2 separate regions of the Homo sapiens genome follow, and region 2 is linked to region 1. The links are contacts of gene promoters, found by promoter capture Hi-C in blood cells and fetal thymus (Javierre and others, 2016). All regions are on one chromosome and are shown on one strand. Each heading gives the region's core, a stretch centred on a gene start or on the middle of the fragment in contact. The rest is flanking DNA. Distances are from core to core; before and after follow the strand shown.

The links. Contacts are between HindIII fragments. The CHiCAGO score rates a contact against its expected background, and 5 or more counts as called.
Region 2: a contact is called between a fragment that was not itself captured here and the fragment with the promoter of OTUD5 in region 1, in 1 of 17 cell types (neutrophils). The highest score is 5.6, in neutrophils.

The regions. Positions count from the first base shown.
Region 1 is chrX:48,955,677-48,959,184 of GRCh38, reverse strand. OTUD5 (OTU deubiquitinase 5) reads left to right here and starts at 1,578. Exons shown (of 9, transcript NM_001136157.2): 1 at 1,578-2,208. The coding sequence starts at 1,615. It also overlaps the pseudogene RNU6-722P. RefSeq lists an enhancer at 832-1,021 and silencers at 1,122-1,281, 1,482-1,531, 1,902-1,961. The HindIII fragment of the contact is 4,109 bases long and covers 1-2,903 here.
Region 2 is chrX:47,653,213-47,656,720 of GRCh38, reverse strand. The region is part of intron 5 of UXT (ubiquitously expressed prefoldin like chaperone); the gene reads left to right. Among named protein-coding and RNA genes, the nearest start is that of UXT-AS1, 3.9 kb to the left of the region's middle. The HindIII fragment of the contact is 1,824 bases long and covers 876-2,699 here.

The DNA.
Region 1 (3,508 bases), core at 329-2,828:
AAAAAAGTAAACAACAACAACAAAAATTGAGGACGGGGTGGGTTTTAAATGACTGACAAAGATCACTCAGACAGGAAGGGCAGAGCTAGGATTAGCGTGTAGCTCTCCAGCTACTCAATAGCAGGGATTCTGCCAACCCCATTTTGAGACGCTGACTGGTGACAGAGCTTTCATAAACCTCGATCGACCCAAGCAAACTCAGTTTTAGAAAAAGGCTGGGCTTGGCCAGGCGCGGTGACTAACGCCTGTAATCCCAGCACTCTGGGAAGCCGAGGCGGGAGGATCGCTTGAGCCCGGGAGCTGGAGATCAGCCTGGGCAACATAGTGAGACTTTGTCCCTACAAAAAAGTGAAAAAAAAATTAGCCGGTCGTAGTGGTGCGCGCCTGTGGTCCCAGCTATTCGGGAGGCTGAGGCGGGAGGATCGCTTGAACCTGGGAGTTGGAGTTTGCAGTGAGCTATGATCGCGCCACTGCATTCCAACCTGGGCGACAGAGTGAGACCCCTGTCTCAATTAGGAAAAAAAAAAAAAAAAAAAAAAAAAAAGGCTGGGCCGCGCCTGCGCACTAGCCATAGGGGCGGGGAGGTCAACGCGAGGCCGAGAGTGCTGTGGTGCCAGAGAAGGCGTGTCTGTTTCCCAAACAACCACTGTCCCCACGGCGCCTGTCTGTCCCAAGGTTGGTCGGTATGCCGCGAGTGACGGCGTCTCTTAACCAATCACCGCAGAACTCAGGCTGTTGCCGGGGCGAAGCGGTGTCCGCCTCCCCCGGAAGGGTATTTGTAGGTGGGTGGGACCGGAAGTGACGCTACAGGGGCCAGCTATGCTCCCGGGAGTGTTGATGTTTTCCAGTCATTCCGGCTGACAGCGTTCAAGTTGGAATCCTGGAGGGGAGGTGTTTTTCCTGTCGTACGTGGGACAGGCCACGCTGTCCGTCCGCAGTACCGACGCCTGCAGGTCAGAGCTTCGGGGAGAAAAGTGAAGAGCAAGACGGAACTGACGGGGAGAAAGGCTGGGAACCAGGGTGTCGACTTTGACTGAAATTTGAGACGGAGGGCACCGGAGGGCGAGCACTCGCCTGTGATTGGCCCGTGGGCGTCGTCGAGGTCCCACGCAGCTGCTCAATTGGTTGGTGTTGCAATTGTTGTGGCGGCGGCGGCGGCGATTTTGCCCACGTACTTCCGAGTAAGGGGCGGGGCTGTGCCCTGGCGCGCGTGCGCAGCGCCCCGGGGCCCCACCCGGTAGTGCAAGAACCTGCGAGGGGGCGGAGCGAAGAGGTGCTTGTTTTGGTTCTGTTTCCTTTGAAGCAGAAGGCCGGAACAAGCGTAGCAATAAACTTGCTGGACTTGGAGAGAAGGCTAAGACAAACTCGCCGCACTGCCTTCATCTTGGACTTTACATCCGGGTTCTCCTCTCGGCGTGACCCGCGCGCCGCCACCGCCGCCGCCGCCGCCGCCGCCTCCTCCGCCGCCGAGGGTTCTCGAACCGGTGCCGCGATCCCTTTATCCGGGTCTCGCCGTTCCCGTCGTGCCTCGCGCACTACACTAGCCCCCTCATCCGGGTTCTCTCCCGGCGTGCCCCGCGCCGGGTTTGTTGGGGGGTACTCGGCAGTGCAGCCATGACTATACTCCCCAAAAAGAAGCCGCCGCCTCCCGACGCCGACCCCGCCAACGAGCCGCCGCCGCCCGGGCCGATGCCCCCGGCGCCGCGGCGCGGCGGAGGTGTGGGCGTGGGCGGCGGCGGCACGGGCGTGGGCGGCGGCGATCGCGACCGTGACTCCGGCGTCGTGGGGGCCCGTCCGCGAGCTTCGCCACCGCCTCAAGGCCCGCTACCAGGACCGCCGGGCGCTCTTCATCGCTGGGCGCTGGCCGTGCCGCCTGGTGCAGTGGCGGGTCCCCGGCCACAACAGGCTTCTCCACCTCCTTGCGGGGGCCCAGGTGGTCCCGGCGGCGGTCCCGGCGACGCGCTGGGCGCAGCGGCGGCGGGTGTGGGTGCCGCGGGCGTGGTGGTGGGTGTGGGTGGTGCCGTAGGCGTGGGCGGCTGCTGCTCCGGGCCTGGGCACAGCAAGCGGCGACGTCAAGCTCCCGGGGTTGGCGCGGTTGGCGGGGGCAGTCCCGAGCGTGAGGAGGTCGGCGCAGGCTACAACAGTGAGGACGAGTATGAGGCGGCTGCAGCACGCATCGAGGCTATGGACCCTGCCACTGTCGAGCAGGTAAGAGCTGTGGGGTGAGGGGTGAGCGGCCACGGCAGATGGGACCCCCAGACTGTGAAGGGACTCAAGGAAGGCTGTTTGAGATCGCCCCAAGGGATCTAGGCGTTTTCACTGGGCCTGACAGTCTTCTCTGGCGGTAGGGATGTGAGACACCTTCTTTCCTCCCCTCCAGGATTTTGGGGCTAGAGGCCTACGGTAAGGTGTCAGACTTAAAGATCCGAGGTCTCTTTTAAGGTCTATAGTCGTCATTCCAGTCCCTGGGACCTCATCATATAGGGCCAATAGGTGGGAATTCTCCAAGAGATACAGGTAGGATCGCGCCCCTCTTGAGTAGGAGTCTCAGGTCTCCCAAGAGACTTAGGTATGTGTTCAGTGGCTTAAGAGCTCTTTTCCTCTGGGATAGAAGTTTGAGATTCCCCTTCCAGGAAAGTCAAATAAGGTGGAGACCTCGGAGATCGGGGCTGAACATCCCCAAGGAGCCTAAGCCCTTTCAAGAGTCTGAGACACTCTGCATATAGGACAATCCTCTCCCGCTTCGCTGGGTAACACTGCACAGGACCACTGAATAGCCAGACCTGAGACCTCAAGGGTCCTAAGTCTGTCTTCAGGGGCCTGAGAGTCCTGCTTCTAGAATCAAGGTCCTGACACACACACACACACACACGCCCCCTTTAAGGATAGGGATCTTCTAAGCTTTTTCCAGGGATGTAAGACTTTTCACAGGGAGATATGATTCCCTTGCCCTTGGGGACAGGGACCAAAACCAACACCCAATGACCAGCAGCTTTACTTATCTCCTTTCTGAGTGACAAAGGTCTGCATTTCCTATCAGTGGCCTGAGACCTACCTCTTGGGAGACAAGGGCCTGAACCGCTTCAGGATCTTAAGCTTCTTGTAAGAAGAGATGGGCCCTCAGCACCCCCACCAGGGGCCTGAACCTTTCTTCAGGAAAATGAGACTCACAGCGTTGGATCCTAGGGCCTAAGATCCACCTGCTTATGGACTGAGGTTTTTAGAGACCGAGTCTGAGGCCTCTTCAGGGGCCTGGTGTCCTGCTGCAAAGGTCTCAGACAAGGTGAAGTCTTTAGGAGATCCTTCTTCTCAAGGCTGGTGTCTGAGTGGTTTTGGGGATCTGAGACTCCCCACCCCACGAGCATATGTGACCCTTTTACCCCAATTATAAGGAACTGAAACATACCTTGGGGATACAGTATCCCATTTTCCCCTCTGTAACAGGGGTTTGAGGCCCTCCCACCTTGGGCCTAAGCTTTTTGTCAGGGACATACGACCCATGCCTTGG
Region 2 (3,508 bases), core at 538-3,037, 1.3 Mb after region 1:
TCTTTCAACACCCCAAGAATGATCCCACCCCAGGGATATTGCTGTAGCTGTTCTCTCTGCCTGCACTGCTCTTTCCCCCAGTACCCACATGGCTTCCTTTCTCCTCACTCACTCGTCTTGCTTAAATGTCACTTCCTCAACAAGGCCCTCTGTAACCTAACTTTCAAATTACAGCCCCTGGCATGCTTGATTCCCCTCCTTCTACTTTTTTTCTACTAACACTTATCACCCCCTAATATTTACTATGTAATTTCTTTCTCATGTTGTCTCCTCCAATTAGAATGTAAGTTTTACAAAGGGGGAGATTTGGTTTATTCCCTTATACCCAGGTGACTAGAGTAGTACAAGCATATAGTAGACACTCTGTGTTTTTGTTTTTAAGAGATGGTGTCTCGCTGTGTTGCCCAGGCTGGAATGCAGTGACTGTTTACAGCTGCGATCATAGCATACTACATCCTCAAACTCCTGGGCTCAAGCAATCCCCTTGCTTCAGCCTGCCAAGTAACTGGGACTACAGGCGCACTGCTGTACCCGGCTTTGTGTTTGTTGAAATAATTTGAAAGGGTATGCTGGAAGCATATTAAAGTGGTTATTGAAGCAGATCTGTGTTGGGGGTGATGGGGAGAGAAAATGTGGGCTCCAGTTGAGTTTAAGGCAGGAGTGTCCAATCTTTTGGTTTCCGTGGGCCACATTGGGAGATTTGTCTTGGGCCATACATAAAATACACTAATGCTAATGATAGCTGATGAGCTAAAATAAAAAAGTTGCAAAAAAAAATCACATAATGTTTTAAGAAAGTTTATGAATTTGTGTTGGGCTGCATTCAAAGCCGTCCTGGACCGCATGTGGCCCACTGGTTGCAGGTTGGACAAGCTTGATTTACGGTTTTGTGCAGGGAAGGGCAGTTGGGAGCATAGATGAGGGATTTGAAATGTAGCTAGGGAAGGCCTCCCAGAGGAAGGGACATTTGAATCATTTGACTGAGTGACAAAGCCATGGGGCTATCTGGCGAAGAGCATTCCTGGCAAGAGGAATAGTGTGCCTGGTATGCTAGTGAAACTACCAAGAGAGGTGAGCTTGGTTTCAATGGAATGAGCATGGGGGCACTGAGCAATACACTTAGATTAACAACATCTCACAAGTGTGAGTACCATTGATTTAAACTTCTTTGTTGGTTGTGTTTTGTGTTTATGTCTGTTCTACATTCATTTTTTCCAGAGTTGCCTCCCTTAGAGTTTCAGTAATTTTTATCTTTTCAAACCTTTCCAGCCATGGGAAGGACTAGCAGGTGCTAGTGGACCCAAAAGAACCTCAGACCTGCTGAGATTTCTGATTCTTGGTGTTCAGACCAATTAGCAAATAGTTTAATTAAACGGCCTGCTTTCATGGTCAACACAATTCTGAACTGGTGGTCATTTAGACCAAGTCCACTTTGTTTTTGAGACGGAATTTTGCTCTTGTCGCCCAGGCTGGAGTGCAGTGGTGCGATCTTGGCTCACTGCAACCTCTGCCTCCTGGGCTTAAGGGATTCTCCTGCCTCAGCCTCCCAAGTAGCTGGGACTACAGGCACCCACCACCACTCCCGACTAATTTTTGTATTTTTAGTAGAGACAGGGTTTTGCCATGTTGGCCAGGCTGGTCTCAAACTCCGACCTCAGATGATCTGCCCACCTCAGCCTCCCTAAGTGCTGGGATTGCAGGTGTGAGCTACCGCGCCCAGCTAAAGTCTAGTTTGTATAAGAAGGCTTTCCTTGTTATGTCACAGGATTCCTGAGCCTATCAAATAGATTTTAATGTTTTGAGACTCCACGTACTTCCCCAAAATGAAGTATTTAAATTGTCAGTGCCTGCCCCCTTGCCTGGTCTTTTTGATGTACTGACCTGGTCTGTTAGTGTGATGAAAAATATGGTTGAGTCTTACTGCTTTATTGTAATTAGTAGGACTGTCTAGAAGTTTAATTTTTCTAAGAGATGAAGATTTGAGTCTATGTAGCTGGCTGTCCTTTAAAAATATTTGGTTACTTGGGATATACTTTGAACTAACTTTCTGGTCATTTTATGTGATCAAAAGTGTCAGTTCTTCCTGTTCTTAGTATATTTCTTTGTTTGGGAAGTGGAAGGGATGAAATCTCTATATTCTTTCCTGATGACACAGAAAGGAGTACACATCCACATCTCATGAATAGACATGTAATTATAGAAGAAACAGCCTAACGGCCGGGCGCGGTGGCTCACACCTGTAATCCCAGCACTTTGGGAGGCCGAGGTGGGTGGATCACGAGGTCAGGAGTTCAAGACCAGCCTGTCCAAGATAGTGAAACCCCGTCTCTACTAAAAATACAAAAAATTAGCCGGGAACGGTGGCAGGCGCCTGTAATCCCAGCTACTTAGGAGGCTGAGGCAGGAGAATCGCTTGAACTCGGAGGGTGGAGGTTGCAGTGAGCCGAGATCACGCCACTGCACTCCAGCCTGGGCGACACAGTGAGACTCCATCTCAAAAAAAAAAAAAAAAGCATAACCATATGACTATTCACACTGCCTTACATACTAAATCAGTAGTAATTTGCTTCTCACATAGCAAATAAAAATAAATCAGCAGTAATAAACATATCCCTTTTGTGTTACAGCTAGCATTTGGTGAACTCTGTATTTTTCTCCCTTTTAAAGTGTTGAACTCATAGGTTTTCATAAGGTAAGCTTACACCATTAACTAATTTTGTTCTCTTTTTTGATGTTAAAATTGTCCCTTAGGAGCTGATCAGGTTCATTCTTCTGTTCTTTAAGCATTACCCCCAGAATATTCTTGAAAGTATTCTTGCTCTCTGGCAACAACACCCATACTTCATTTATTTCCTGTCCCTAAACATACACTCAGCCAACCTCAGGTTCCTTTTAATGGAGTAGTCACTTATTCATTCAACATACGTTGGGTGCCTCCTCTGTGCCACACACTGTTCTGGTCCCTGGGGATAGAGCAGGAAACAAAAAAAAACAAAATCTGCCCTCATACAGCTGACATTCTAGTCAGGGGAGACAAACAATAAACAAATGAATGATGTAGTATGTCAGATGTTGACAGTGCTATGGAGAAAGCATATCATGGAGATCAGAAGCATTACCTGCAATGGAACAGTCATGATTTTAAGAAGAATGGCTGACTGGATGTGAAGTGTGAGAGAGAGGAGCCCAGGTTTTTGGCTGAGCAACTGGAGGGATGGAGTTGCCATTATCTGAGATGGAGAAGTTAGGGGAGGAGTAGATTTGGAGGGGAAGGTCAGGAATTTAGTCTGGAACCTGTTAAGTATGAGGCACTTATTAAACACTGAAGTGGATTTTTAGAAGATGTCATTAAAACTAGTCAAGTTCAGGAGAGAGTTCTGGGCTAGAAATAAAAATGTGGGAGATATTGGTATATACATGGGTTCATACTACTTTTTTTTCCAATTTAACATCCTATCTTATTGCTCTCTGCTTTTCCAACAGTATTTAGTTTCATTTACCCCTCAAA